Linked DNA regions of Homo sapiens: all the other regions are linked to region 2. Evidence: promoter capture Hi-C in 16 types of primary human blood cells and fetal thymus (Javierre and others, 2016). All regions are on one chromosome and are shown on one strand. The core of a region is centred on a gene start or on the middle of the fragment in contact, and the rest is flanking DNA. Distances in the headings are between cores, read along the strand shown. Region 1 overlaps NUP98 (nucleoporin 98 and 96 precursor). Region 2 holds the start of STIM1 (stromal interaction molecule 1). Region 3 overlaps NUP98 (nucleoporin 98 and 96 precursor).

What was found. Contacts are between HindIII fragments. The CHiCAGO score rates a contact against its expected background, and 5 or more counts as called.
Region 1: a fragment that was not itself captured here is called in contact with the fragment with the promoter of STIM1 in region 2 in 1 of 17 cell types (activated CD4 T cells); the score reaches 5.2 in activated CD4 T cells.
Region 3: a fragment that was not itself captured here is called in contact with the fragment with the promoter of STIM1 in region 2 in 4 of 17 cell types (naive CD8 T cells, total CD4 T cells, naive B cells and 1 more); the score reaches 8.9 in naive CD8 T cells.

What each region holds. Positions count from the first base shown.
Region 1 is chr11:3,735,535-3,738,999 of GRCh38, reverse strand. All of the region lies in intron 12 of NUP98 (nucleoporin 98 and 96 precursor), which reads left to right. Among named protein-coding and RNA genes, the nearest start is that of NUP98, 60 kb to the left of the region's middle. RefSeq lists a silencer at 2,934-3,134. The HindIII fragment of the contact is 4,702 bases long and covers 1-3,465 here.
Region 2 is chr11:3,854,173-3,857,828 of GRCh38, reverse strand. STIM1 (stromal interaction molecule 1) reads right to left here and starts at 2,165. Exons shown (of 13, transcript NM_001382567.1): 1 at 1,420-2,165. The coding sequence starts at 1,558. It overlaps STIM1-AS1 (STIM1 antisense RNA 1), which reads left to right and starts at 2,251. Exons shown (of 2, transcript NR_183662.1): 1 at 2,251-2,472; 2 at 3,171-3,506. It overlaps MIR4687 (microRNA 4687), which reads right to left and starts at 1,767; the gene lies at 1,688-1,767. RefSeq lists enhancers at 1,250-1,299, 1,310-1,389, 1,540-1,749, 1,965-2,910, 3,120-3,189 and silencers at 1,970-2,129, 2,190-2,249, 2,730-2,779. The HindIII fragment of the contact is 6,805 bases long and covers 1-3,656 here.
Region 3 is chr11:3,760,238-3,763,979 of GRCh38, reverse strand. It overlaps NUP98 (nucleoporin 98 and 96 precursor), which reads left to right. Exons shown (of 33, transcript NM_016320.5): 9 at 941-1,078; 10 at 3,354-3,441. Among named protein-coding and RNA genes, the nearest start is that of NUP98, 35 kb to the left of the region's middle. The HindIII fragment of the contact is 2,527 bases long and covers 850-3,376 here.

The DNA.
Region 1 (3,465 bases), core at 77-2,576, 120 kb after region 2:
TTAGAACTATGTGAGTGTGCCTTGTCTTAAAAAAACCTCAGGTATGGTGGCTTCCTTACAGGCAGTACAGTCTGTTCTTCTGTTCTGGTTGTGTGGAAACCAAATCCTTCCTCCATAGAGTTTCCACCCAGTGGTTCTACTTTTATTTCCTAAAGCTAAGCAAAACCAGTCTAGTATGTATGGTTTCTTTTCTTTCTTTCCTTTTTTTTTTTTTTTTTTTTTTGAGAGGAGTCTTACTCTGTCACCCAGGCTGGAGTGCTGTGGCACCATCTTGGCTCACTGCAGCCTCTGCCTCTGGGTTCAGACAATTCTCCTGTCTCAGCCTCCTGCGTAGCTGGGACTACAGGTATGTGTCACCATGCCCGGCTAATTCTTGTATTTTTTAGTAGAGATAGAGGTTCACCATTTTGGCCAGGCTATTCTTGAAGTCCTGACCTGAAGTAATCTGCTTGCTCAGCTTCCCAAAGTGCTGGGATTACTGGCATGAGCCACCATGCCTTGCTGTAGTATATTTGTGGTAACCCACTGACTTTCTTCTGGATAAAGTATCATCAGATTCTTGTGTTTCATCAGAAGACTTGGTTTTTGTACTTTTCCCTATCCCTTTAATCATTTGGTTATGATTTAGTTTTTTGGAATCTTTTATTTTGAAATTTCTTTGGAATTTGTTCTTTGGAAAGTTTTCAAATTATTTTGACCAAGATTGAATGTAATACCAGTAGTTGCTTAACTAGTGCTTGTTTGTTTTCTTGTTTTTGCTAATCTATCAAGATACTCTCTTACCTGTGTCTTTAAATACTACAGTTAACACAAAGTTTATATTTATTCATACAGATATAAAATCATGCTCATGCACTTTCTTGTGTTTGGATTTGTGAAAGGAAGTCTTTGGTTTTTTTTTTTTTTTTTTTTGAGAACGCCCAGGTAGAATGATTTGTACTTGTTAAACGATGGGATCAACTAAGACAGGTCAGTTTTCTAAATGAGTAATTGCCTGTCCAGTAACAAAATGACCAGTGAGGTTTGGAGTTCTCTAAAGTTTTTCTTGAGTCTCCTTGCATAGTCCCCAAAATAGCAGTATGCTGTTAATCTGTAGTACTGTGTACCAAAAAAAAAAAAACTTTTCTTTATTTTTTGCTCTTAAATTGGATTTAGGAACTTTCTGAATACAGATGATTTACTCTGTGCTCTTAAAATTGACATCTCTTGGTTTGAGATCCTGAGCAAACTTGTCCTGTCTAGTTAAATATCAACATGAATGTACGGTGTTTTAGTATTTATTGAATACATCGATTTTAAGAAACCTTTGACTCTTCTTTTTCATTAATTTAGCTATAGCAGCCTGTTCTGTTTTTGTTTGTTTGTTTGTTTTTGAGACGGAATCTCGCTCTGTCGCCTAGGCTAGAGTGAAGTGGCACGACCTTGGCTCACTGCCAGCTCTGTATCCTGGGTTCACGCCATTCTCCTGCCTCAGCCTCCGGAGTAGCTGGGACTACAGGTGCCCACCACCATGCCTGGCTAATTTTTTCTATTTTGTTAGTAGAGACAGGGTTTCACCATGTTAGCCAGGATAGTCTCGATCTCCTGACCTTGTGATCCGCCTGCCTCGGCCTCCCAAAGTGCTGGGATTACAGGCATGAGCCACCACGCCCAGCCTCTTTTTTTTTTTTTTTTTTTTGTTATTACTGCTTTTGTTCTCCACCCACTCCCCACAACATTGTGAGACTTTTCAGAAAGTTTTATGTCACTCCTTTACTGTGGATTATTGTATTATATTTTGGCAGTAACTTTATTTGTAAATGTTTATAAGGGAAAAAGGTAGTATTTTTGTCTGTAAAATGACTTTATTATGTTTTGGGTTTTGATCAGTATTTTTGGAAAGAGATTTTATCTTGCAAAGAGGTTTCTTCTTCAGTCAGGGTATACTGTAGTGGTTTTGCTTTTTTCTTAATGTTTTACTTGGTACAATGGTAGATCATGAATAGTCTTCATTGTTACTTATGTCTGTTCCCTAAATTCTCTGCAATTGATAACAGATGTTCTTACACTTTGAGAAAAAATTAGGCTTAGTGATTTCTTTTTTCTTTCAGTTTATATTATGTGAATGTTAAATAAATGTAAATAATAAACTTATAAGGATAGCCTAAGCATTTTCTTCAGGAAGACACCTGGATTTGGGGGAAAAGAAAAAACCACATTTTTGTTTGTATGCTGCCTTCCTCTGTAGCCTTAATGTACATAATATTTTTATTCTGGAAATTTTACTTAAAGATAATTTCATATTTCCACAATGAAACAAATTATTATTTTTAATAACTACATAACCTATGTTGATGTGTCATGATGTTTACAACTTTTTTGTTTGTTTGTTTGAGGCAGAGTCTCGCTCTTTCACCCAGGCTGGAGTGCAGTGGCGCGATCTCGGCTCACTGAAACCTCCACTTCCTGGGTTCCAGCTGGGGTTATAGGTGTGCGCCCCCACGCCCAGCTAATTTTTTGTATTTTTAGTAGAGGTGGGGTTTCACTGTATTGGCCAGGTTGGTCTCAAACTCCTCACCTCAAGTGATCTGCTCGCCACGACCTCCCAGTGCTGGGATTACAGGCATGAGCCACTGCACCCCGCCTACAACTATTAACTTAATATTGGACACGTAGGTTGTTTCCATATCTTGACTGTATATATACTATGCAGTGAATGCTTAGGAATTTATTTTCTTTCTAGTTCGAGTTAAATTTTCATGATTAAAATTATGAGGTTAAAAAATAGAGGCCAGGCATGGTGGCTGACTCCTGTAATCCTGGCATTTTGGGAGGCCAAGGTGGGCAGATAGTTCAATTTCAGGAGTTCAAGACCAGCCTGGGCAACATGGCGAAACCCCATCTCTGAAAAAAAAAACAAAACACACACACACACACACACACAAAATTAGCTGTTGTTGGTGTGGTGACTCACCCCTGTAGTCCCAGCTACTTGGGAGTCTGAGGTTAGAGGATCACTTGAGCCTGGAGGCAGAGGTTGCAGCAAGCCAAGATCATGCCACTACACTCCAGCCTGGGTGTGTGTGTGTGTGTGTACACGCACAAACACACAGTACTTGTCCTGTTGTATATTGTCATATTATTTCCTTTGGACAATTACATACACGCACGCACACACACACACACAGTATTTGCCCTGTATACTGTCATATTATTTCCTTTAGACAATTACACACACACACACACACACACACACACACACACACACACACTACTTGCCCTGTATACTGTCGTATTATTTCCTTTAGACAAACCAGTCTATAATGTTTCTAGAAGTCAAAGACTATGGCTTTTTATGCAGCTATTTCAGTGATAGGTATGCATAAAATATTTCATCAGGGTTGTTTAAATTTTCCTTTCTTTGATTAGTAGTGACAGTGAACACTGTGTAAGTGAATTTATATGAGTATTGTATCTTATGAAATG
Region 2 (3,656 bases), core at 916-3,415:
GGAACTTAAAAGGGTATTGCCCAATAAAGGGTCTACCACCAAAGCCAGCTTCTGGATCCATCCATGAAACTCCCCAGCCACCATGACCTATATTTCCTTTTCTGACTTGTATCAGCAGGTGCCCACTGAGCCATTCCCTCATTTGAACTTGCTTATGCTCAGAAACAACTCATCTATAAACTCTCCCCACACTGCAGGTCACAGCTTTGGGCAGATCACAGCCAAAGGGTGAGAGAAATGGGAAAAGAGAACTGATCTCGTAAGCCTTATGTAAAATGACTGGATTTTAATAGAGTTCCTTGATGGGTACAGTGGCTCACACCTGTAATCCCAGCACTTTGGGAGGGATCCCTGCACAACACAGAGAGACAGTGTCTGTTCAAAAAATTAAAAATAGAAAGAAAAAAAAAGTTAGCCAGGCCCAGTGGCTCTTGTGTTTAGTCCCAGCTACCGGGAGGCTGAGGCAGGAGGATCACTTGAACCCAGGAGTTTGAGGCTGTAGTGAGCTGTGATCACACTACTGCATTCCAGCTTGGACGACAGATCAAGACCCTGTCTCAAAAAAACAAAACAAAACATAAAAGTGTTCCTTTCTACTGCAAAAGTATACCAGGGCTCCTGCTGCCTGATAAGCCTTCACAACTGCATAGGAAAAACCATGACAGATCAAAAGTAGCATGGTTTCCCTAGCAAGCAGACTCAGGGAAAAAAAAAAAAAAACAAAAAAAAAAACCTGTAGCATGGAATTCCCACCCTCATCAGTCAGAAGAAACAGAATAAGTCAACAAGTGGTCCCAGGAATTATATCATGTCTATGTCAAGAAAAGGCCATTTAACACCCTAGTTGTAAATAGGATTCCATCTAAGAAACCGCCTGGATATTTCAAATGCGCACAGCAAAGAGACAAGACTACCTAAGGGAAGGGTGGGACTAGGGTTCCCACGGTTGTTGGAATAGGCACACCTGAACACCAGGCTTTCAGGCAACAGAGGTGGCCCAGCCTTAACTTTCCCTTTCCAACATAAGTGGCCCCAACCTCCCCCATGCTGCTCAGTACTAAAACCGAATAGGAGCAATGAACTTATCATCTCACCAGGCCATTCTTCCAGACAAGTAGGCCTAAGATGGGGTCTTTCCTTGCTGATCTAAAAGGTCAAGTTGCCCCAAAGGCTTCTTCTTACTGCCAACAAAAAAAATCCTGAGTGCGGGGGATGAGGAAAGTTGTTCAGGAAAGATACAGGCATTTGCCATGACTACTGACCAGAAAGAACTTCTTGAACTACTTGGAACAGGCAGTGCCATGTGTGAATCCTCCATGAACCTCACATGTACAAACCTAGATTTCAACTTGCCCACTTCGGGCCACTCAGTCCTGAGCCAAAGCCTCCAGCCCAGTCCAGCCCGCAGCAAGGCCTTACCTGCTGCAGTGGACTCCTCAGAGTTGGCCCCCGAGCTGGTTCCTGTCGCCTTCTCACTGTGACTATGGCTGAGGCTCTGGCCCTGGTGCAGGAGGAGTCCCCAGAGGAGCCACAGGGCAAGACGGACGCATACATCCATGACTCTAGGTCTCAGTCAACATGCGTCTGATGTGGACACCTCGGGATCCCAGAGGCAAAGCCAGGAGCCCGGGAGTGCAGCCGACGGTCTCCAGGCAAGATGCCCTCGCGGCTCCGCAGCTGTCCAGCCACCCGCGAGCCTGCCCCCTCCAACAGCCAAAGGTCAAGTGCTCCAAGTTTGGGTGCGGGAGGAGGGCTGGCTCCTCAGGTCCAACAGTGGGTCCGCCGGGGCTGCGGCGGCCTGAGCTCGTGCCGCTTCCGGAGACTTCGGGCAGGGTGGCTGCGGGGCTGCTGTCAGCTCCGCAGATTACTACACCCCTGCGGAAGGGGGCGGCCGGAGTCTCCGCGGGCACAGAAGTGGAGGAGGAAGAGAAGAGAAGAGAAGAGAGGCGAGAAGGGGGCACCTGACCTCGCCCTGCCGAAGAGCGGCGAGCAGCAGAAGCTGGGGAGGGCGTGCGACCCGCAGGGTCCTGAGGGCGCGGGCGTCTCCGGGATCCTGGGCCTCCTAGGCCGAGGTCAGCGCCCCCGCCCAGTCCCGTGCCCAGGCGGCTGGCGGTGCCCAGGTCCAGCAGGCGGACGCACACCGGCCAGGCCCAGGACAGCGGCTTCCAGGCGGGCGGGCGGCGCGGGGCGGGCCCGGGGCGGGCGGGGGCGTGCGTCTCCGCGCCCGCCCCGCGCCGCCCGGTCCCCAGCGAAGCCCGGGCCAGCCCCAGCGCCCAGCTGGATCCCGGAATAACCGGTGAAGACGGCTCCCCGGAATCCCCGCCCCTAGCGGGCTCTCCCGGACCCCCGGCCCGCGCTAGTCTTTGCCAGGATCCCGCGCAAAGGATCAAGTCCCAGCTTCCCTTTCCCCACCGAGAGTCTCCAGCGCCAACCGCGGGCCGTCGGGCGGGTCCCTGACCCGCAGTTACTCAGGTAACTCAGGCCTGCGGCGGCGGCGACAGCAGCTGCCCTGCCCCGATCTCCGGGCCTTGGTGCTGCTCCACTCGCCTCAGTTCTAGAGCTGTCTAAACAGAGGCCCAGGACACGACGTTAGCCTCCCAGGAGCTGCCTGAGGCGACAACAGCCTGACCCGGCTCGGCCCGGGGGCGAGCTCCCAGCCCCCAACTCCCGGCCAGTTCCCAGGCTCCGCCCTCGCGCCTCGCCTGACAACCAATCGGCTTCCGCCTCTCTGCGGCTTGGGAACCCGCGCGCTTCGTCGCCCATGCGCAGCGGCCCCTGGTGGGAAAATCAGCAAACTGCAGACAGGACTCGGCGCTCCTGGGAGGGCCTGCTCTTTTGCAGAGGGTTGCCGAGTGAAGCTAAGACCCGCCCCGGGGGAGGCCCACGAGGGCCACTGGGGCCTGCGAGTGTTTTCTGAGGAAATGATGATGCCAGAAAGCAAAATGAAATGTCCAAACCACTCTAGCTAAAATTCCCCTACACATTCCTTGAGTCTGGGCTAAAGGGTGCCATCTGCTTTCCCGACCCCGCCTCCCTTCCCCTCCAAGCTAAGTGGGATGCCCTCCCTTAGCTCTCACAGCCCTTTTTCCTACCTGCCCTCAAGCTCTCAGCCCTTTAAGGTTTTTCGGTGGGGCCTGTAAATGCTTCCTCCCTGCATCTCATTCTCCCAGCTACCTCTCTGGTGGAGGAGGTGTCAGCGACTTGAGAATGAGTGCGCCAAAGAAGACAGAGCCACGCCTGAGCCTCCTTCAACAAAGCCTGCACTTCCTGTTCTCTTCTCAAGCGTGCTGTCAGCAGATCTTGACTGAAACCTCTGTGCCCTACCCTGTCCTTGGCACCAGACGCAGGGGAAAGGATCAGGCCCAGTCCCTCCTCTGACTGACAGTGCTAAACCAGCTACCTGTTCTGAGCAAGGCCCCTGAAGACTGGGAACACGAATTTGCCCAACAGCTGCCTGGCTTAAGGGTTAGGCCGTTGATATAAAAATACATGGCTAATGTAACCTACTACCACTCTCCCGGCTCTGTTAAGCTCCTGTCACACTAGCCTTCGTTAAGTTCCTAACCACGTCAAACTCAGCCACCTCACAGCCTTTGTATCTGCTGTTGCTTCTGCATGAAACACTCTCGCCTGCTCCCAGTTCCTCATGTAGCTGG
Region 3 (3,742 bases), core at 864-3,363, 94 kb after region 2:
AGTGAATTCCCTATTCAGCAAGTCTATTAGCACAATATTTTTCCTTTATTAATGCATAAGTAAAATACATTGTTAAACATAGGATGATGCAGACTGCTCATTGGAAATGAGTATAGTTTCTCATTTAGAATTAAGGCTTTTGGCTGGGTGCAGTGGCTCACGCCAGCATTTTGGGAGGCTGAGGCAGGTGGATCCCCTGAGGTCAGGAGTTCGTGACCAGCCTGGGCACATTGTGAAACCCCATCTCTACTAAAAATGCAAAAATTAGCCAGGCCTGGTGGCGTGCCCTTGTAGTCCCAGCTACTTGGGAGGCTGAGGCGAGAGAATCACTTGAACAGAGGCTGCAGTGAGCCGAGATTGTGCCACTGTACTTCAGCCTGGGCAACAGAACGAAACTCCGTATCAAAAAAAGGAATTAAGGCTCTTTAACATAACACTCGTACCTCGGTCCGTGTTGATTTATTTTCGCTGATTATTTTTGGTTACTTGATTCTAAGTTCACTCCCCAGCTTGATACTGATTAGTTCTTTTCACCTAAATCGTTGAAAATGAAGGACCTAGACATACTATTTTGCTTCTCAGTGTTGCAACCCTGACATCTCTTAGAGCACAAGAGTTAAAGTCTTATTATTTAATAGACGCCTAAGACCTTGGAGTTCATCATCCTGGGAAGAACAGGGGCTTAAATATAGGTTTGAACTTCTGTTCCTACCATTCAGGAGCTGTGGCACCTTGGGCAAGTTTTAAAATGCTCTGAGCTTTTTGAAAAATATACTCCCTGCTTTTCAGGGTTGTTTTGAAGGAAATAATCTATATAAGTTATTTAGCCTAATATCTGTCATATAAGCTTGAAAAAATGGTAACTTTTTTTTTATTACTCTGAGATTCGTTACGGAAACTATTACAGGATATCTTTTAATCTATATAAACTTCTTTGCAGGGATTATTTGGAGTAACCCAAGCCTCACAGCCTGGAGGTCTTTTTGGGACAGCTACAAACACCAGCACTGGGACAGCATTTGGAACAGGAACAGGTCTCTTTGGGCAGACCAATACTGGATTTGGTGCTGTTGGTTCGGTAGGTTTCTGCAGTTGACTGTAATTTGAAGATGTGTGTAAATTTGTTAAAAGGAATTTTCTTCTAAGGATTTGACTGTTTTGCAGGTATTTTTATTGGGTGTATTATTGCACCAGCCTAATATGATTTGATTCTGAGAACAAAAAATTATTTGATATAAAATGAAATTTCAGGTTAACTTCAGGTTTGTTTTCAATTAGTAAATTCTTTCCCTTTTAAAATTTCTTTGCCTCAGTGCTTATGTGCATCATACTTCTGATAGCATTGGTTAAATTGTTGAGTCTAAATTGAAATTCTTTTGCTTTATTTGAATCAGATAATTTTTAACTCCTAGTTCTTCCCTCTTTTGTAGGTGATAAATTGGTATGATGTTTGGGAATGAAATGTTTTTGGGGTTGATCAAATTGTTGAAATTGTTGAGGTACTCATGGAAGAAACTTTGAACTTGCTATTGTGAGTAGGTTAAAAAAATTAAAAAAGAGCCAGGCGCGGTGGCTCACGCCTGTAATCCCAGCACTCTGGGAGGCCGAGGTGGGTGGATCACCTGAGGTCAGGAATTCGAGACCAATCTGGCCAACATGGTGAAACCCCGTCTCTCCTAAAAATACAAAAAAAAAAAAAACCACTAGCTGGGTGTGGTGGTGGGTGCCTGTAATACCAGCTACTTGAGATGCTGAGGCAAGAGAATCACTTGAACCCAGGAAGTGGAGGTTGCAGTGACCCGAGATCGCGCTATTGCACTCTAGCCTGGGCAACAAGAGCAAAACTCTGTCTTAAAAAATAAAAAAGGAACACAAAGTCCCTAAAACATATGGTCCTGTTTTCATGGAGATTGAAATTTCTCTTTTCTTTTTTTAAACTTTGGACAGATAATTGAGGTAAGAAATTGAGAAAATTATATAATGCTTCAAGACATTCTAGTACTTCTGTTGTTGTTGTTGTTGTTGTTGTTGTTTTTGAAACCGAGTCTCGTTCTGTTGTCCAGGCTGTACTGCAGTGGCATGATCTCGGCTCACTGCAACCTCTCCCTCCCAGGCTCAAGCGATTCTCGTGCCTCAGCCTCCCAAGTAGCTGGGATTACAGGCGTGTGACACCATGCCAGGCTTTTGTTTTGTTTTTTGTTTTGTTTTGTTTTGTTTTTTTGAGACGGAGTCTCGCCTGTTGCCCAGGCTGGAGTACAGTGGCGTGCGATCTCGGCTCACTGCAACCTCTGCCTCCCGGGTTCAAGCAGTTCTCTGCCTCAGCCTCCCGAGTAGCTGGGATTACAGGCGCCCGCCACTGCGCCCAGCTGATTTTTGTATTTTTAGTAGAGAATGGGGTTTCACCATGGTGGCCAGGCTGGTCTCGAACTCCTGACCTCGTGATCCACCTGCCTTGGACTCCGAAAGTGCTGGGATTACAGACGTGAGCCACCACTCCTGGCCTTAATTTTTGTATTTTTTAGTAGAGGTGGGATTTTGCCACGTTGGCTAGGCTGGTAACTCCTGGCCTCAAGGATCCTTCCGCCTTGGCCTTTCAGAATGCTGGGATTACAGGCGTGAGCTACTGTGCCCGGCTTCTAGTACTTTCTAGTGACAGATTTATTGATGTATAGTCCACATGCCATACAATTTGTCTCTTTAAAGTGTATAGCTAGGTGATTTTTAGTATATCAACAAAGTGTGCAACTATCACCATATTTAATTTTAGAACATACTCATTATGCCAAAAAGAAATGCCATAGTCATTGGCAGTCACTCCTGATTTTCCTGTAATCATCTTAAGCCTACTTTCTCTCTATGGATTTGACCATTTTGAACACTTCATGTAAATGGAATCATAATATGTGGTCTTTTGTGATTGATGTCTTTCACTTAGCATAGCATTTTCAAGGAACATCCATGTAGCATGTTCAAAGTTTTTCTTGTAGTGATTTCTTCTGGCAAAGCAAGTATTTGCTACATTTCTCTTAACAGGTAAAAAGATATTTGATGGCCTTGTTATTTTTTTCTTTGCCTCACTGAAATCTGGTTTCATTGGATTCATTGTGTTTCAGTCGTAATCCTTAGGGGTTACCATTAACTTTTCAGGCCAGAAGCATTCCGTGTTTATAAAGTTAATCTTGCCCAGATTATTTTTTGATAGCCTTTATTCATCTTTTTTCTACCTTTTTTATGAATGTTAGGACATCTTTCTCCCACCCCATACCCAACCCAGTATACCTGAGGTAACCTGTATTTAGTTTGGTGTGTGTCTTAATATTATTTTAAATTTTCCTGTATTCTATTCTTTTTAGACCCTGTTTGGCAATAACAAGCTTACTACATTTGGAAGCAGCACAACCAGTGCACCTTCATTTGGTACAACCAGTGGCGGGCTCTTTGGTAACAAACCAACCCTGACTTTAGGAACCAATACAAACACTTCTAATTTTGGTACATATAAAAAGCAGGTTTGGCTCTCTTAAAGTTACACTGACTATACCACACGTTATTCTCCTGATTCGTATGATTGGAAATATTTAAAAGTTCTCAGGTAAGCGGTAGCTTGATGTGAAGTACCAGAGGGAAAGGTTTAAAGTCCTGGATATGGCTTGAGATAATTAGTAGGCATGTAAATTGCCTTTCATTTACTTTGGATTACTTCAGCAATAGCTGAGAAACCATAAAGGAAACACATTTGGTT